7 separate regions of the Homo sapiens genome follow, and all the other regions are linked to region 5. The links are contacts of gene promoters, found by promoter capture Hi-C in blood cells and fetal thymus (Javierre and others, 2016). All regions are on one chromosome and are shown on one strand. Each heading gives the region's core, a stretch centred on a gene start or on the middle of the fragment in contact. The rest is flanking DNA. Distances are from core to core; before and after follow the strand shown.

Evidence for each region. Contacts are between HindIII fragments. The CHiCAGO score rates a contact against its expected background, and 5 or more counts as called.
Region 1: a fragment that was not itself captured here is called in contact with the fragment with the promoter of SPAG16 in region 5 in 1 of 17 cell types (naive CD8 T cells); the score reaches 6.7 in naive CD8 T cells.
Region 2: a contact is called between a fragment that was not itself captured here and the fragment with the promoter of SPAG16 in region 5, in 10 of 17 cell types (naive CD8 T cells, non-activated CD4 T cells, total CD4 T cells and 7 more). The highest score is 21.8, in naive CD8 T cells.
Region 3: a contact is called between a fragment that was not itself captured here and the fragment with the promoter of SPAG16 in region 5, in 2 of 17 cell types (naive CD8 T cells and total CD8 T cells). The highest score is 6.0, in naive CD8 T cells.
Region 4: a contact is called between the fragment with the promoter of ABCA12 here and the fragment with the promoter of SPAG16 in region 5, in 1 of 17 cell types (M0 macrophages). The highest score is 5.3, in M0 macrophages.
Region 6: a fragment that was not itself captured here is called in contact with the fragment with the promoter of SPAG16 in region 5 in 1 of 17 cell types (naive CD8 T cells); the score reaches 5.2 in naive CD8 T cells.
Region 7: a fragment that was not itself captured here is called in contact with the fragment with the promoter of SPAG16 in region 5 in 10 of 17 cell types (total CD4 T cells, naive CD8 T cells, activated CD4 T cells and 7 more); the score reaches 15.1 in total CD4 T cells.

Annotation. Positions count from the first base shown.
Region 1 is chr2:215,213,805-215,216,504 of GRCh38, forward strand. No RefSeq gene overlaps it. Among named protein-coding and RNA genes, the nearest start is that of LINC02862, 60 kb to the right of the region's middle. The HindIII fragment of the contact is 1,938 bases long and covers 406-2,343 here.
Region 2 is chr2:215,281,722-215,284,421 of GRCh38, forward strand. No RefSeq gene overlaps it. Among named protein-coding and RNA genes, the nearest start is that of LINC02862, 8.1 kb to the left of the region's middle. The HindIII fragment of the contact is 5,494 bases long and covers 1-2,700 here.
Region 3 is chr2:215,155,957-215,158,656 of GRCh38, forward strand. No RefSeq gene overlaps it. Among named protein-coding and RNA genes, the nearest start is that of ABCA12, 19 kb to the left of the region's middle. The HindIII fragment of the contact is 578 bases long and covers 962-1,539 here.
Region 4 is chr2:215,137,207-215,139,906 of GRCh38, forward strand. ABCA12 (ATP binding cassette subfamily A member 12) reads right to left here and starts at 1,420. Exons shown (of 53, transcript NM_173076.3): 1 at 934-1,420. The coding sequence starts at 1,002. The HindIII fragment of the contact is 8,560 bases long and covers 1-2,700 here.
Region 5 is chr2:213,283,064-213,285,763 of GRCh38, forward strand. It overlaps SPAG16 (sperm associated antigen 16), which reads left to right and starts at 1,401. Exons shown (of 16, transcript NM_024532.5): 1 at 1,401-1,556. The coding sequence starts at 1,421. SPAG16-DT (SPAG16 divergent transcript) reads right to left here and starts at 1,146. Exons shown (of 3, transcript NR_161186.1): 1 at 970-1,146. RefSeq lists enhancers at 1,434-1,563, 1,604-1,653, 1,724-1,803. The HindIII fragment of the contact is 3,357 bases long and covers 1-2,700 here.
Region 6 is chr2:215,177,447-215,180,146 of GRCh38, forward strand. LOC124907974 (a long non-coding RNA gene) reads right to left here. Exons shown (of 2, transcript XR_007088074.1): 2 at 1-1,895. Among named protein-coding and RNA genes, the nearest start is that of ABCA12, 40 kb to the left of the region's middle. The HindIII fragment of the contact is 4,431 bases long and covers 1-2,700 here.
Region 7 is chr2:215,264,413-215,267,112 of GRCh38, forward strand. No RefSeq gene overlaps it. Among named protein-coding and RNA genes, the nearest start is that of LINC02862, 9.2 kb to the right of the region's middle. The HindIII fragment of the contact is 945 bases long and covers 878-1,822 here.

The DNA.
Region 1 (2,700 bases), core at 125-2,624, 1.9 Mb after region 5:
ATATATTTATGGAGCACTCAATTTATTCCAGGCTCTATTCTAGGCTTTAGGAAGAGGCAGTGAATAATGTAAAGTTATTTGTCCTTGTGGAGCTTACATTTTAATAGAGGGAGACAGACAATAATCAAACTGATTTATGAAGACGTGGAGGAGGAGAGGAGGAGAGGAGGGGGATGAAAGAGAAGGAGAAGAGGAGGAGGATGAGAGAAGGAGGAGAAGAGGAGGAAGTGTAGAAGGAAGAGGAGGAGAAGAATACTTTACAGTGTGGTTGAAACATATGGATTCCATAGATTATATTGATTCCATACAATTCTTAGAATTCCATGAAAAATGAAGAGGGGGAGAAGGAGGAGGCAGATAGGAAGAAAGGGGAGGAAAAGGAAAGAAAAGAAACATCAAAATAAAAGCTTATACTTACAGAGAGTGATAGAGAAGGAGGTGTTCCTCTCATTCCCAACTGTGGTTTATCTTTTAAATCCCTCTCACAATCATCCCATAATCCCTTTTTAATCTTACTCTCAACATCTGGAATCTCAATCCCCTTCACTCTTAAAACTCCACCCCTTTCCCTGTAGGGAAACAGCTGCATCTTGTATTTGTCATGGAAACCTCAATCTTCAATCAAATAGAGTAACGCAGCCCTTCCTTTGCTTAGGAGTTTCAGGCTCTCAACTGGGATAGGTGGGTTCTGGTCTCTTGAGGTGAGGAAGAAGCTGAAGCAGCAAAGGCTACTGCTGTCAGCCTCCCAGGTTACCTAAAGGCAAACAAATCTCACTAGAGCAAACATTAATTTTCTTTTCCAAACAACACAATTTAATCTCCTATGGGGAAGTCATACTTCTCTTTGCAACATGGCTTTGATTGCATTGCTTGTGAAATAGCAACCTGGGACTCATTGTGATAACAAGCATGTGACTACTTCCTGTGGCTGCTTGAATGTAAGGGCCACAACCTTAGTGGATAATGGCTCTCTCTGGTTGAAAAAATCCTCACATCTTTCCCGATAGCAGTAGGGAATAAGATCTCAATTCATCTCCCCACAACCTCAAGTGAGAAATTTGGACATAATTCCATATACAGAAGACATAAAGACTTGTTTTTAAAACTCAGAGGAGAGGAATTATCATAGCTTAGCTTTAGGATGAATATTGGCATAATGATAGGATGGACCAAAATAATAATAATAATAAAGGAGGTAGGAGAACTAGTAAGAAAATGACGTCAATTTTCCAGATGAGAAGCAATGAGCACTGAGATCAAGTCATAGGAATAGACAGGAAAAGTGAGAGATAGACTCAAGGCACAATGCACAGGAGAAGCCACAGAGCTGTGCAACTAATTAAATACTAAGAGCAGTTGAGAGATGTCAACATTTCCAGCTTCGTGACCATGTGAATTGTTGTCCTGGTAGAAGAAAGAAGAGAAAAGAAAAGGGAAGAGAAGAAAAAAGAAAAGGAGAGAGAGAGAGAGGGAGGGAGGGAGCGAGAGAGGGAGAGGGAAAATCAGGGTGGATGTGGGGTGGGAGAGGAAAGGGTCTATTGTGAACATGTGAAGTTTTAGATGTTCACAGACATCCTATACTGTGTCAAGGTTTCTCAATCCTTGAGACAATGAAGATTTCTCAGAAGCAGTTTGGGAAGTTACAGATGTGGACCTTGCAGTTTGATAGATGTTGGTTTGAATCCTGCCATCACTCCTTGCTAAGGGTGTGACCCTTGGCAAGGCACTGCCTGCTCAGTGTCTTCATCTGTAAGATGAAATTAATAGCGCCTATCTCATAGAAGGATTAAATGAGAAAACTCAAGTAGGCCACTTTGAACATTTCCTGGCATAGAGAACAATATGTAAAAGTTAAAAATTGTTCGTCTTTGATCATTGCTTTATTCAACCCTTCTTAAGATAAAGACCTGTTAAAAATATTCTAAATTATTTTTACATAACACATGATCACTTCCTCTTTGTTTGCCTTCACACTTCATTCAAGGTTGGTGGTCAATGACAGTTTGCAAACTGTCCCAGGCAGTCTTTCCTATGGTAATGAGACCCCCAAGAGAGTGTTTAGCAAAAGTGTTTGCCTAGAGAGATCAAGAGGAGTTTGTGTAGTTTGCACTTTGTAATTATAATGAGAATTACGTCAATTCATCATACTTTTAAACCCAAAGTCTTGCCCAAAATGACTGCAGTTGAACATGTGTTTATCATAGTGCTACTCTAAAAAGAAGGTACCTTATGTAAGCAAGAAGGAGTCCCCTCGCTCGTAGGTGTAAGGGGGCAAATCAATGTGCTGTGGAGGAGGGGTGTGTGAGCAAACAAGGTGTATCAGAATCGCTAGAACATATCCAAAGCTTGTAAATGAATGTAATACCCGGATGCTTACTCATATTAGAATCAAAATGTCCATCTCAGAACATGCCAGTAGCTTAAGTTTGAATGCCCATTAGTTCCTTAAAATTAAATGCAGACCAGACAATTATCATATAATTTATAAATACTATATTTTAAGAACATTTATTTATCCAACATGTATTGAGTGCAGACCCTAATGAAGAAAGGTAGCAGACCTAGAAGAATCTGACAGGTCTTCTCCTTGAAATTTGGCTCTAATATCTTCTAGTTAGACACCTATGCCTCCCTGAGTCTAATTCTCTCCTTTAAAATGGAGATAACGAATCCGCCTTGCAAAGATGTTGCAAGCATTAA
Region 2 (2,700 bases), core at 183-2,682, 2.0 Mb after region 5:
ATGTGGTAAGGACCAGAGGCCTCCTGCCAACAGCCAGCATCAACTTACCAGCCATGTGAGTCGGCCATCTTGAAGCAAGTCCTCCAGCCCCTCTCAAATGCCCCAGCTGGCATCTTGACTGTTAACCTCATGAGAGATCCTGAGCCAGAATGACCTAATGTGCCCCCGGATTCTTCACCTTCAGGAAATTTATGCTATCATAAATGTTTATTATTGTTTGAAGCCAGTAAGTTTTGGAGTAATTTGCTCTGTGTGCAGTGATAAATAGATAACTAAAACAACTGATGCTGGTACAGTTACAGCATAGTTCATCTCTCCCAAGTAAAACTTTACTTATTTCATGACGTATATGAAGAATTTAGAAAAATAAATTTAAAAAATCAACTTTGGGGTCAGGTAAGGATATTTAAAATCTAGCACTTCACAAGCACATCCCAAAAGAGTATATTCAAGTAGTATGTAAGTATATAAAAGGATACTTAACCTCATTAGCCATAGGGTATTCAAATTAAAACAACAATGAGACTGGGCATGGTGGCTCACGCCTGTAATCCCAGCACTTTGGGAGGCCGAGGCAGGTGGATCACCTGAGGTCAGGAGTTCAAGACCAGCCAATGTGGTGAAACCCTGTCTCTACTAAAATACAAAAATTAGCTGGGCATGATGGTTGGTGCCTATAACCCCAGCTACTCGGGAGGCTGAGATGGGGGAATCACTTGAACCCCGGAGATGGTGGTTGCAGTGAGCCAAGATTGTGCCACTGCACTCCAGCCTGGGCAGCTGAGCGAGACTCTTGTCTCAAAAAAAAAAAAAGAAAAGAAAAAAAAAAGAAAACAACAACGAGAAAAACTGTTCACCCACCAGAGGGCTAGAATAAAAAATAATGATAACATTTAGTGCTGGTAAGGATATGAGGCAAATGAAACTCTCATATACTGCTGAAGATTGTGTACAATCACTCTGGGGAATTATTTGGCAGTACAGGAGGTACTAAAGCTAAACTGCATACACCTTGTCACATAACCATTCCACTTCTAGTAGTAAACCCAACAGAAATGTATACACATGTGCACCAAAAAAGTACAAAAATATTGATAGCCAAAAACAGAGAATGATCTGTATGTCCAATAGCAGTAGAAAGGATAAATTGGGATGTGTTCACACAAGAAATACTGTATAGCAATGAGAAATAAACAAATTACAGATATTTCCAGCAATAATAATAGATTTCACATATGTAATATTGAGTGGAAAAAAGCTGTTTTTTAAAACAAAAAGTGGGGGCCGGGTGCGGTGGCTCATGCCTGTAATCCCAGCACTTTGGGAGGCTGAGGCGGGCAGATCACCTGAGGTTGGAAGTTCGAGACCAGCCTGACCAACATGGAGAAACCCCATCTCTACTAAAAATACAAAATTAGCCGGGTGTGGTGGCGCATGCTTGTAATCCCAGCTACTCAGGAGGCTGAGGCAGGAGAATGGCTTGAACCCAGGAGACAAGCTGAGATGGTGTCATTGCACTGCAGCCTGGACAACAAGAGTGAAACGCCATCTAAAAAAAAAGGAGGGGGGGTACATAGTATGTAATTCCATTCATATAAAGTTCAAAAGCAGGCAACACTAATTTATGGTGATGGAAATCAGGATAATGGTCACCTTTGAAGAGGAGGAGGAAGCAACTAAGATATGACATAGGGTGGGGAGCTTTTGGATGTTGATAATAATCTATTTCCTCATTTGTCTGCTGGTTATGCAAGTGTGTTCACTTGCTGGATATTCCTTCAGATGTATACTTATGATTTGTGCCCTTGTCTGTATGTATGTTATTCTCAGACAAAAAGTTTACCAAAAAAAAAAAAAAAAAAACACTCAACATGGTAAGGAATAAACCCCAATTTTCTCATTTTCATGGTTGAACTCTCATTAGGTGGGAGAGTGCTCTTGTTGTTAGAAGCTACATACTGAATTGTCAAAAGGTAATAGGGCACGTTTGTAATTCTCAAATGGCTTAGGGGTAAAAATATAAAATATGTGTTATATATGAATATATAATATACATGATACATCTGTGGAATGAATATATATGTGTGTGTGTGTGTGTGTGTGTGTGTGTGTGTATAGAGAGAGAGAGAGAGAGTGCCAATGATGAAGCAAATATGTTTTTTTTTCTTTTAAATTGCCAGGTGCGGTGGCATGCACCTGTAATCTCAGCTACTTGGGAGGCTAAGGCAGGAGGATCACTTGAGTCCAGGAGTTTGAGACCAGCCTAGGCAACACAGTGAGATGCTGTCACACACACACAAAAAAAACCCAAACAGGTCAGGTGCAGTGGCTCACACCTGTAATGCCTGTAATCCCAGCAATTTGGGAAGCCGAGGTAGGTGGATCACCTGAGGTCAGGAGTTCGAGACCAGCCTGGCCAATGTAAGGAAATGCTGTCTCTACTAAAAATACAAAAATTAGTCAGGTGTGGTGGTGCGTGCCTGTAGTCCAGGTAACTGGGAGGCTGAGGAACGAGAATCGCTTGAATCCAGGAGGCAGAGGTTGCAGTGAGCCAAGATCATGCCAATTTGATCGTTCCAAAACAATTGAGGAGTTTGAGTGAAGGGTATGTGAGAGTTTATTGTGTTTTTCTTGTATTTTTTCTGAAACTTTGAAACTCTTTCAAAATAATTAAAACGTATTTTAAAAACACCTGTTAGC
Region 3 (2,700 bases), core at 1-2,500, 1.9 Mb after region 5:
GTGATGGCGGGCACCTGTAATCCCAGCTACTCTGGAGGCTAGAATCACTTGAACCCAGGAGGCGGAAGTTGCAGTGAGCTGAGATCATACCACTGCACTCCAGCCTGGGCGACAGAGTGAGACTCTGTCTCCAAAGAAAAAAAAAAAAAAGTTTATGCCCCTGATGATAAACATTATGGAGCTTACATTTTACCAGGCTTTTATTTCATCGTGAGGATACATGATCAAAGAACACGAAATTTTTCTCTAGGACACACTGTTAACATCACCATTATATCATTTGCCAAATGTTAGTTATGAGCCTTGGTTGAAGTAATGCATGCCAAGTTTCTTCACTGTAGAATGACTATTTTCAGTAGGACACTTTGAGACTATGCAAAAATCCTGCTCCTCCTTAAACTTTTTCCCACAATTTTACCCACTAAGTTAATCTTCCAGACTTTTATTTACTTGATTACTGGATCCAAAGAGTTCCAAATACTTTGACTAAATAATGGTAAAATTAGAAATCTTTGCCAAAAAGAATATACTGGCCTAATAGAATATAAAGGTTTAAGTAGAAATATATATGTATAATTTCAATCAAGCCCGAGACTTCTCCCCATTAGTAGGATGTTTTAGTTAAAAACACATGAAAGGCTTTTGCCTGAATTTACCCAGATAGTTACAGTTGAATGACTAAGATGGAAGGTTAAATGCTTTGTCAGCATTTCAAAGATGAATTTCAATATCTATTATAACATCTTTATGATATGAAATATTTTCTTTTCTGCTAATGCCCTATTGCTGTGAATAATCAAACCATTCAAACTACTTTCTCTAATGCAATTAAAAAAAAAACTAATAAAAATTCTGAGTTTTGATTCTAGGCCAGAAGTCTGCCTGTAGTCGGGGGAAAAAAAAGGTGGGAAAGTCATTCATTGTCATTCTCCAGGAATTTTAGAAGATAGTACACTTTTAAAGCTTCTTGGAAACTCTAGATAATAGGCAGTCAATATTACAAATACAGGTTAAACAAGAGACGTTAATTAAAATCGTCATTTAGGGAAGAACATTACTGTTACCATTAATTTAATTTCTGAAACAATTTATAGATTTTACCTTTTATCACCTTAAAAAGAATGGAGAAAGATTTTATTAGAAGGCCACAGTTCATATACATCATTTTCTATGGGGCTAACATGCATCAACTCTCAAAACTCCCTCACGTTCATTGCAGTAAACACACAGCCTTTGGCAAATCTATATGGGGTAGAGTTGAGAACTTAGTGGCATCCTTATAAGTTCATAAAACTACTGTGTATAAACCTAAAGGACAAATAAGTAACATGAAGGGATTGATGAAATTAAGTGAAAAAGTGAACAAAACGTGTATGTAAAGTGTAAAAATTGAGGTCAAGGGTGCAGTTTCATGCTTAGAATAACCTTAGGGAGATGTGTGCCAAGTCTACAATATTATGCTTAATTGTGGTCTAACTTTAAGTGCTCTGAGACATTTCTGGTGAATGCCAAGTCATCTAGACAACTCAAGGAATTGAAAGCTTGAGAAGAAAGTCAACAGTTAGCACTGCTATTCAATTTTTTCATGACCCAGGACAAGTCACTAGGTCTCTCTGTACCTAGGTTCTTAAACTCCGCATCTGTAAAATTGAAATTATGCTCCCAAATTGCTTCTCAATATTGTTGTGAAAGTTATCCAATAAAAGGTATGGCATTTTAAAGCACTGAATGGGTTCCCCTGTAATAGTCAAATGTCAGTATCTGTTCCCAAGAAATATAGTAGATTTTCTCTTCTGAGAGATTTTTTAAGTCATTTGTCCTGAAAGTTTTCAGCAGCCACTAATCTAGGAGAATATCAGATTGAATTTTTTGACATCCATTAGTTTTATTCTCTTATAAATTAAGTGCTGCTTTCATGTAACAGTTCTCAATAAGGCTTGACCAGTGATACATGATCTACACACAACTACGCATCCACTCTTGCCTTTCCAAGTTATTCTCCAAATTGCAGCCAAAATGATCTTTTCAAAGCACAGGTCTAAAGATGTCACTCCCTTTCTTAAAGCCCTTGAATGGCTTCCCTTTGTGTTTAGGACAACGACGGAACTGCTTAATGGTCCACAAGACTGTCTATGGTCTAATACTTAGAGTCCACCATCCTCCAAAACTCTCCCTACCTGTTTTCTTTCACTGTCTCTTCATCCCACTCTTTCCCTTCCCAGGGTCACGGTCTTGCACACACTTCCCTCCTGCCCTCTCTGAGTTTCATACCCACTCACTCTCTCTGGCAGTCATTTTCTTACAAATGTCTAACCTAACATCCACAGCACTGTGCTTTTCTCTTTGGTAGCCCTTATAGAGTTGGCATTTACATTTTTTGTGTGTGATTATTTCATTGCTCTTTGTCTCCCTCATTAGATTGTAAATATTAAAATCCTTCACGTATTGGCATCACAGTGTATCTCTAGGGCCTACACAGTGCTCGACTCAGTAAATTTTTGTTGAATAAACAGTATTTCCTTAAATCAATATTTTCCATTGCAGCCAATGGTGGTCAGTGACACTAGGCAGGAAGAAGCTCCATTTCTGGATGACATTCGTTCACATTAAAGATAAACAAAACAGTTTATTGGTAATGACGCTGATCGCTTTTGCAAGAGCTTCCTTTCAATAAGCTATTTTAAGAAAACCAACTTATTT
Region 4 (2,700 bases), core at 170-2,669, 1.9 Mb after region 5:
CTCAAGTAAAGTGTCAGGCAATCCAAGCAAGCCTGGAGCGAGATAAGGTGCATAGATAAAGTGCTGGTTTCTGTGTGATGCATATTATTTGCATAATATTTACATTACTCATTCAAGGCTGGGAATTACCACTTTAAAATAAAGTATATTGAATACCTTTTTGGATTTCCCCGATTTTCAAACATTCTTCTGAATATATAACAACTCCCAGAAACCAATTCCTTTCTCAATCATCCTGGGAGCCATCTGATGAGGATCTAATAGCTAACTTTGTAATTAGAACGCAAACATTAATGTAAGAGTACAAAAAAGACGTTGCAATGAGCAAGAGAAGATAGATTGTAGTAGTAAAGCTAAGTGATTCAATAATATTCTTAAAACATAGCACATATACATACTCTTGTTTGGTATTCCCAGTAAATGATTTTTAGATACTAAAATTTCTCAGTAGCTTTTCTATACTAATAGCCTTCAAACTATTTCTGTTCTGTATTTTACCTTTCAACCAAACTTTCTATGGCTTTCAGTTTTCCAGTATATTTCTTCCCATTTATTGTACATTTCAAATAATACTTTTCTTTCCTCTATCCCATTTTTAACTACATTAAGAAAAATTCTGAAAGCCTTTTGGCTTGAAACCAGAATTCAACGTTCCAGTTCAGCCAGTAATGAGTCATGTTCTTTTTTTTTTGCCCAGGGCATGTCCTGGTTTACTCTTTAATTTACTGAAATGAAAAGGCTGCTTTTGGGGGCATGTTAAGACTCGCTCCATTAGCTATAAGACAGATAGGGGGATGAATTCTAAATATCTTACTTCCTGCTTTGGAAAATGCCTTTAAACTCTTCTGTTTTCACTTCTCATTAAGATCACATTTTAGGATTACCTGGCGTATTGCCCCATGACCCATACTCCCACACTTTTTTTTAACTCACCGGCTGCCTTTTTACACCTAGCCAATTTTTCCAGACCAGGATCTGAAGCTGATGAAACAGGGAAGCCATCCTTCAAATGCCCCAAATGAGAGATTTCCTCTTCTTTTCTCCACTCCACAAATGAAGAACTGATGCCCCGTCCAACTTGCTGTATGTCAGTGTATCAGTACCCCTTTCACGGCATAGCTTCCTTGAGGGCTGGGGTAAGAAACCCACAGTTCTTCTGTTTCTGCTGGATTTTTCCCTGTGGTTAATCCTTAACCAAGAGGCACTTCTCAATCAACTCTTCTTCCAAAAGAAGGACCCAGATCAGTATCTTTGGGTGGCTTATGCTTATTTTAAAATAATATCCAGTTGCTGCTTGTTGCACGAAGTCCAGACTCAAGAGAGAATGAGCATCATTCAGATAATGCCTCACTGAAAAAAAAAAAAAAGCAGCAGCTGAACCCACACCTCCTACTCTCCATGAAATTAATTGCCTATCCACACCTTAGAGAACATGTCACCTGCACTGGATGCGTCACAGGGACTAGGGGGTGGGACCTTTGCAAGGCCAGTAGGACTTGTCCTACATTCTCTTGTCTTCTTTCCTGCACACAGTGTCTGCTCTAGCAGAGGCAGGGCACAGAGAGCATTTCACAGACACTGGGCCCAGTGACTCTTTAATATTAAAGTGTCATTAAAATGATTTAAGTCAATAAGGCCAGAGCTTAGCTGCAAAGCTCTGAGCCTCAGCCCATCATTAGATATACTAGGGAAAGTGTCCACCTTTAACCTAAAGTTGAATGTTTCGATTTTGGGGGAAGAAACTATGTTGGCCAGGTCCCACCTTTCATCACAATGTACTAGGTTAAGCACAGGGCAGAAAAGGAAAGGTAGGCTGTAGGGGACATAAATTACAAACTGGAGTCCCTCAATTCGTGAGTGGAGATTCACGTGTCTATTACAGACAAGCCACATTGTTTCAGGCTCTTATAGTGAAAGGGGACACAGGCTGATCCAAGACATTTCTATTTCCTCTTTCCATGATACATTCCTCCCTCTCTAAGATCCTGCCTTTCAAAGTTATCCCCAAGTTGACATCTTCAATGAAGCCTTTTTGGATATATCCCATAGGATAGATTCTCTTGCCTTTGAATCATTCTTTGTTGCCCTCTCTCAAGGAACTTAAAGTTTTTGCATTATTTTTATTTGTGTATGTCTTATTTTTCCTACAAGATTATAAATTATTTGAGGACATGGACTATTTTATATCACAGTACTTTACATATCATTAGTGTTCAATACTTGCTGCTGAATGTAATTGAATAAACTACTGGAGCCAAGGCTAGTAGGGTGAAGCTCCCCTTTGATCCTCACACCTACCCTGACTAATCCAGACTTTACTTGCAAAATCCGTTAAAGCATTAAGAGTTCTCCCTTCGCCAGGTGCGGTGGCTCATGCCTGTAATCCCAGCAATTTGGGAGGCCGAGACGGGCTGATCACTTGAGGTCAGGAGTTCAAGACCAGCCTCGCAAACATGGTGAAACCCCGTCTCTACTAAAAACACAAAAATTAGCCAGGCATGGTGGTGGGCACCTGTAATCCCAGCTATTTGGGAGGCTGAGGAGGGAGAATCGCTTGAAACCGGGAGGCAGAGGTTGCAGTGAGCTGAGATGGCGCCACTGCACTCCAGCCTGGGCAAAAGAGTGAGATTCCATCCCCCCTCCAAAAAAAGGAATCTAGCACAGGTCCTGCCTCATAGTAAGTAGTCAATTAATTCTATT
Region 5 (2,700 bases), core at 151-2,650:
CAGTTTTCACCAAGAAATGTAGAATGAAAAATAATACCATTTGCCCTAGCAATCCCATTACTGGGTATATACCCAAAGAAACAGAAATTGTTCTACCATAAAAACACATGTACATGCGTGTTCATTGATATTCATGATAAAGACATGGATTCAACCTAAATGCCCATCAACGGACTGGATAAAGAAAATGTGGTACACATATACCATGGAATACTATGCAGCCACAGAAGAATGAGATCATGTCCTCTCAGGGACATGAATGCAGCTGGAGGCCATTATCCTTAGCAAACTAATGCAGGAACAGAAAACCAAATACTGCATGTTCTTAGTTGTAAGTGGGAGCTAAATAATGAGAACAAATGGACACAAAGAAGGAACAACAGACACTGGGGCCTACTTGAGGAGGAGAGTGGGAGGAGGGAGAAGATCAGAAAAAATAACTATTGGGTACTACACTTAGTACCTGGGTGACGAAATAAGTTATATACCAAACCCCTGCGACATGAGCTTACCTGCACTTGTACCCCTGAACCTAAAATAAAAGTTAAGGGAAAAAAAAATATTTGCAAAGAAAAGGGCCTTGAATTTGCTTCTGATACATACGCGATATAACCTGAGGAAGATCCTCTCAGCAATAAGACTATACATGATGGGGCAAGTGTCAACTGCATACATTTGTCAGGACCAAATTTGTAGCTCATAATTTTTATGCAACTGTTTTTACCTTGGCGAGAATCAATGCTACAAATACTATTCCAAGTCTTAGTATATGGAACCAAACTCAAAACAGATGTCCAGCTAAATGCATTAAAGATCACAAGAAAGGAATTGACAAAGCTGAACACCATAGTTCTTCATTGCTAAGCATCTGAGGAGCGTCTGGTAGCTCCCCTGGGTCAGTCTTTCTATTATGATTTCTAGAACTTTATTTTTTCATTTTTTAAAAAATTCCAGGTGTTGAGAACTCACCTTTTCTAGTAGTTTTCCCTGGGAACACTTGGGGATCTACAAACATCTGAAATTGGAGGATGCTAATGGGCAAGAATCAAGAGAAAGGTAATTCAGAGACGACAACGAAGTGGGAAAGAAATTACAGGGTCAAAGCGAAAGAAAACCAAGCTGCTTGGGTAGGAAGGTGCAATGCAAGCCAATTGTTTACTGTATCTTGTCCGCTCCCAGAGCTGCGCCCGAGCTCTCGCGTTAACTAGGCAACATCGTTGCCACGGTAACTGGGAGGCGCGGGAGGGCGACAGCTCCCTGGACTCCCGGTAACCCTTACGTGCCCGGGGCTGGTCCGTGGGGCGGGGTGAGAGATGCCGGAATCTCGCGAGAGCTCCCGGGGGCCGTTGGGTAGCGTCTTCGCTGTTGCCCTTAGGGACGGCTGTGGGCCTGCTGGGGGTGGGGGCCCGAAGCGCCAGAGATGGCTGCTCAGCGAGGGATGCCCAGCTCCGCCGTGAGGGTCCTGGAAGAGGCGTTGGGCATGGGTTTGACGGCAGCCGGGGACGCGAGGGACACGGCGGACGCGGTGGCGGCTGAGGGCGCCTACTACCTGGAACGTATCCTTCCCGTGGAGGCGCGGCCCGCTGCGCTGGCGGGTAATGGGTGTTGGGACGAAGGCGAGGGCCTCCCACTGGCGGCGCCTTTTGAGCCTTGGGGCCACTCCGGAGGAGCCTCTGTTGGACTTCAAGGTGCTGTTTTTGCCACCACAGTCTTCCTGAGAGCCACTCACTGAATTTCTCGCCCTTAGTAGCCCAGGGTGTCCTGTACCTGTTAGAAGAGTTGGGAGACCTTCCAAGGCCTCATACTTAGTAACCACTCAGTACATTTTGGATGGAGGGTTGCTTTTTATGTTAAGACAGCACAACAAATTGCTTCAACCCTCCTTTCAAATAATGGGTTTCCTAAATAAGCCCTCAATCTTTCAGAAAGCCGTCCCAATAAATTCAACGGAGGAACGTTAGGAGACTAGGGAAAGACCTCTGCCATTGGACTTTAAGGAGCTGAAGCTCAGAATACCCAACCCACGATCCTGTTCGATGGTCCAGTTAATGCTTAAATGCTTAGTTTTGATAGCATTATCTTCCTGAGTAGTTCCAAGTTTGACTACTTAATAATAAATACTAATAGTATAGTTGCTTTTTTTTCTTGAGCAAATAAATAATGATCTGGTGAGCTACACAGCTCAGAGATATTAGGAATAAAGCAGATGGTGATTAGCGATTTTTATCGGAAGTACCAGAAAAATTGAATAACAATGTGTGGATAATTAGGTCCACTATTTCTTGTGTAAGGCTTTAGAACTTCTTTCCTCTAGTTATATAGATTAATTCCTACTAGGGAGACGGGGAGGGTTCATGAGAAAAAGACATGTAACTCCTTTATTCAGGGAGGTAAGAAAGAGATGATTATCTGTTCAGTTCTTAAAGATACCAAGGAAACTCCAAAATCTGCCAAATCTTATTTGTTTGTCCAACTGTAATCCTCTCCAGGTTTAATTCAAGATTTCAGAAATCCAGCAATGATTCATTTCGTGAGCTTTGACAAGCCGATTAACCTGTCCTGACTCAGGCTCAGTACACATCCACACTACAGAGAGCTTTGAAGAATTTAGCTGAAAGATTAAAGAAAATATGTAGTATTTTATTGGGTGCAAAAACGACTTTTACAGGAATAGAAATTTGAATCGCTTGAAATGAATTT
Region 6 (2,700 bases), core at 143-2,642, 1.9 Mb after region 5:
GGTGTTTCTTTACAGCAGTGTGAAAACAGACTAATACAGGCTCTTTCTTGGTTCTGTACAAATTTTAGGATTTTTTTTCTGTTTCTATAAAAAATGACATTGATATTTTGATAGCAATTGCATTGAATCTATAGATGGCTTTGGGTAGTATGGGCATTTCAACACTGTTAATTTTTCTGATCCATGCGCATGAGATGTCTTTCCATTTGTTTGTGTCCTCTTCAGTTTATTTTATCAGTGTTTTGTAGTTTTCCTTGTAGTCATTCATCCACTTGGGTAAATTTATTCCTAGGTATTTTTTGTAGCTATTGTAAATGGTATTGCCTTCTTGATTTTTTTTCAGCTAGTTCATTATTGGTGTATAGAAATATTACTAATTTTAATTATTGATTTTGTATCCTGAGACTTTACTGAATTTCTTAGTTTTAAGAGTTTTTTGGTGGGGTTTTTGGTTTGTGAAGAGTTTTTATCATGAAGACAAGTTGAATTTTATCAAATGCTTTTTTTTGCATCTTTTGAGATGATCATATGGTTTTTGTCCTTCATTATTGTATTAGTCTTTTCTCACACTGCTATAAAGAACTACCTGAGACTGGGTAACTCATAAAGAAAAGAGGTTTAATTGAATCACAGTTTCACAGGCTGTGCAGGAGGCATGGCTAGGGAGGCCTGAGGAAACTTATAATCATGGTGGAAGTCGAAGGGGAAGCAAGCATAATCTTCACACGGCAGAGCAGGAGAGACAGCATCTGGTATCATAGAATGAGTTAGGGGTAATTCCCTCCTCTTCAACTTTTTGGAATAGTTTCAGGAAAATTAGCATTAATTCTTTATACATTTGGTACAATTTGGCAGTGAAGCATCTGGTCTTCGGCTTTTCTTTCCTCAGAGACTTTTTATTACTGGTTTAATCTTGTTACTCATTGGTCTGTTCAGGTTTTCTATTTTTTTTCTGATTCAACCTTAGAAGATGGTATGTGTTCAGGAATTTATCCATTTCCTCTAGGTTTTCCGGTTTGTTAGTGCATAGTTGTTCATAATAGTCTCTAATGAGACTATTCATTTCATTAATCCTTTGTATTTTTTTTTTTTTTTTTTTTGAGATGGAGTCTTGCTCTGTCGCCCAGGCTGGAGTGCAGTGGCTCAATCTCGGCTCACTTCAAGCTCCGCCTCCGAGGTTCACGCCATTCTCCTGCCTCAGCCTCCCGAGTAGATGGGACTACCAGGTGCCCACCAACACGCCCGGCTAATTTTTTGTATTTTTAGTAGAGACGGGGTTTCACCGTGTTAGCCAGGATGGTCTCGATCTTCTGACCTCGTGATCCGCCCGCATCGGCCTCCCAAAGTGCTGGGATTACAGGCGTGAGCCACAGTGACCGGCCTGTATTGTTTTTTTAAGTCTCTATTTTATTTAGTTCTGCTCTGATCTTTATCGTTTCTTTCCTTCCACTAATCTTGGATGTGGTTTGTTCTTGCTTTTCAAGTTCCTTGAGGTGCATCATTAGACTGTTTATTTGAAATCTTCCATTTTTCTGATGTAGGTATTACTGCTACAAATGTCCATCTTAGCACTGCTTTTGCTATATCCCATAGTTTTGGGTATGCTGTGTTTCAATTTTCTTTTGTTTCAATACATTTTTAAAATTTTCTCTCTTAATTTCTTCATTGACCCAGTGGTTATTCAGGAGCACGTTGTTTAACTTCCATGTATTTGTATCATTTCCAAAGTTACTCTTATTGATTGCTAGTTTTAGTCCACTTTTATTCCAGTTTTATTAATAGTGGAAAACTTCCCGAGTCTAGCAGGATGTTTACACATCTGGATACAAGAAGCTCAGAGATTCTCAAATATTTATAATGCAAAAAGACATTCTCCACAGCACATTATAGTCAAGCTGTAAAAAGTCAAAAATAAAGAGAATTGTAAAAACAGTAAGAGAAAAGTATCTAGTCACCTGTAAGGGAATCTAATCAGATTAACAGTAAAGATACTTGCTCTGAGTACATACTTGATGTGATTTTGATTTTTAAAAAATTTGCTGAGACTTCTTTTGTGAACTAATGTGATTTATCCTGGAGAATGTTTCATGTGCTAATTAGACGAATGTGTATTTTGTAGCCATTGGAAACAGTAAAGGTTAAGTTCATTGGTCTAAAGTCCAGTTTAAGTTCAGTGTTTCTTTTTTGTTTTCTGTCCACATGACCTGTCTATTGCTGCGAATGGGGTGTTGAAGTCCCCCACTATTATTGTACATTGTATTGGAGTCTATTTTTTCCTTTACATCTAGTAATATAATTTTTTTTTTGAGGCCGAGTCTCATTCTGTTGCCCAGGCTGGAGTGCAGTGGTGTGATCTCGGCTCACCACAACCTTTGCCTTCTGGGTTCAAGCAATTCTCCTGCCTCAGCCTCCTGAGTAGCTGGGACTACAGGCGTGTGCCACCGTGCCCGGCTAATTTTTATATTTTTAGTAGAGACAGGGTTTCACTATGTTGGCCATGCTGGTCTTGAACTCCCGACCTTGTGAAGCATCCATCTCAGCCTCCCAAAGTGCTAAGATTACAGGCGTGAGCCACCACACCTGGCCTACATCTAGTAATATAATATTTATGTATCAGAGTTCTCCGGTGTTGAGTGCATATAAATTTATAATTGTTATATCCTTTTGCCGAATTGATCTCTTTATCATTGTATAATGACC
Region 7 (2,700 bases), core at 100-2,599, 2.0 Mb after region 5:
AGAGGAGATGGATAAATGTTCAGAAATTTTGCGAGTCCCATTGGCAGCTTGAAGTCACCCAGGGTTGAGAATATTTACACCACAGAAATTGGCAAATGCTACAAATCTGAGTTTTCCCTCCTCGCCATCCCCCACCAGTGCTGGTTGTTAAACATTTACCAGTACACCACTGACAAGGCTGGAAGGCCTAAGAGCTCCAGAAGATATTTGAGTTACACAATTAATTGACCGGTTCTCTCTTCCAGTGAGGCAAAGAACGCCACACACACTTCAAAATCTAGAAGTCTTTGGAAAATTATTTGAAATGCAAGCTCTATTTGTCCTACCAAACTTCCTAATTTCTAATTATATTTTTTTGAAGCTAATATTAAAATAATCATATTTTTGAGCACATATTGCATAGAAAATAAAACATCATAACTAGGCTATAAAAGAATATGCTCAGTATCCAAGGAATCAACAGTTGCCTTTATTTTAATATATTCTTCTGATAAAAGTTTTGTAATATTTATGCGACCTAATCCTATTCGGATTGAATTACTAACAATAGTCTATCTTAATAATACAAAAAAAATAATTAAATGCTTTATTATAATTTCATCAAATCTTGTACTTTTATAAGAAATTTAAAAATGATCTACGACCTTGTGGAGAAGCAAAAACAACAAAGCATATTAAATCTAGAATTATAGCTCCCAGAGATAATCAATGTTTACAATGATAGAGCAGGGGTCTACAAACTACTATGTACCCCAGGGGCTGAATTCAGCTATGCCTATACTGTGGGCGATTATTTTTGCACTACAACTGAGCTGAGTAGTTGTAATAGGAACCATATAAAGCCTAAAATATTTACTATCTGGCTCTTCACAGAAAAAGCTTGTGGACCTCCAGTTATTCCTCAATTTATAGATATAATTTATAATAAAAATGGGGCGACATCATACATACTGCTTATCAACCTGCTTTCCTCTCCTACTTAGCTATGCAGTCATTAAATGTTGTGTTGCATCATTTTTCAGTTTTGCAGCATTCTTTTTTTTTTTTTTTTTTTTGAGACAGAGTTTCACTCTTGTTGCCCAGGCTGGAGTACAATGGTGCAATCTCAGGTCACTGCAACCTCCGCCTCCCAGGTTCCAGCCATTTTGCTGCCTTAGCCTCCCCAGCAGCTGGGATTACAGGCGCCTGCCACCGTGCCTGGCTAATTTTTTGTATTTATAGTAGAGACAGGGTTTTGCCATGTTGGCCAGGCTGGTCTTGAACTCCTGACCTGAAGTGATCCACCCGCCTCGGCCTCCTGAAGTGCTGGGATTACAGGCATGAGCCACTGTGCCTGGCCCATTTTCTTGATATGACAACATTTATTCAGGTTGTTTCCAATTTTTTTAGGTAACAAATATACTTTAGTCTAACTCTTTTCTCTCTGATTTTTTTAAGGTAAATTTCTAGTTGTAGAATTGTTGGATCAAAGTTGGACATACAAAAGTTCAGATTTTGGTAACTTTTGCAAAGCTGCCCTACAAAGAAGAATTTCCTATATATATATTACAACTGTCTTCCTATGAATTTTAAATGTAAAAGGATTGTATTTTCTGGGTGAAAATTCCCCAAGTTTCTTCCAAAATGTCAAGAATAAATATTTTTAAATATGTCTTTATAAAGTACCCTGTGTGAGAAAAAGTCAGAAAAAATTGTCAGTCTTCACATAGCTATGGTATGCTTCAAATTTTAGTCCCAAATGCACATTATGAAAATATATGCTTTGCGGAAATCTGTAATACTTACTAGGCCAAAAAAGCAGTTTCAGCAAATAATATCTCTAAGCTTCAGTTTTTGCACCTATAAAATGGGATCATACAAGCTCTTCCAATCTGAGAGACTATTGAAATAATCAAATGACACATGCATAAGAAGGAAGTATCAAATTTCGTAAAGTGCAGAAGGTCCGATGGTTTACATCATTTCAACATTTCTCTTTACTGCATTTTATTCTTAGATAGTAAAATTTAATTGATACTAAGATTTTTTTTTAAATAAAGCAAATCTGTGATTGATGCGGGGGAGGAAGTAGGAATGAGATAAATGTCCCCACCGGAATGAGATAAATGTCCCCACCTGTTTTCTTTCAGAGGAAAATTTCCACAGTGCAAGGCCACTTTATCATGCTTCTGGGTGGAAGTTGCCTGAGGGTTGCAGAGTCTAGGCATGGAGCTTCACAGGCAGTTGCTGGCTCTTCTATCCATTCTCCTTTCTTTCTTCCTGAACACTAGACCCTCTTGGCTGTCCTGCTGCCTCACCACTGATCCTTTCCTGTCTCCTTCACTGGTTCCCCCTCTTCACCTTGTCCTCTTAACATTAAGTGCTTGGGAATAAGTATTCTCATGACGTCCAGTTGCATACCTAGAACACTGATGACTCCTGCACCTCATTCAGCCCAGTCTTCTCTCCCGAGCCCCAAACTCTCAAATCTCACTGCCTAATCAATTTCTTCACTTGCATGTCTAATAGCATCTTAAAGTTCATATATAAATACATACTCGCCAGGCGTGGTGGCTCACACCTGTAATCCCAGCACTTTGGGAGGCCAACGTGGACAGATCACCTGAGGTCGGGAGTTCAAGACCAGCCTGGCCAGGATGGTGAAACCCCATCTCTACTAAAAATACAAAAATTAGCCGGGCATGGTGGCAGGTACCTGTA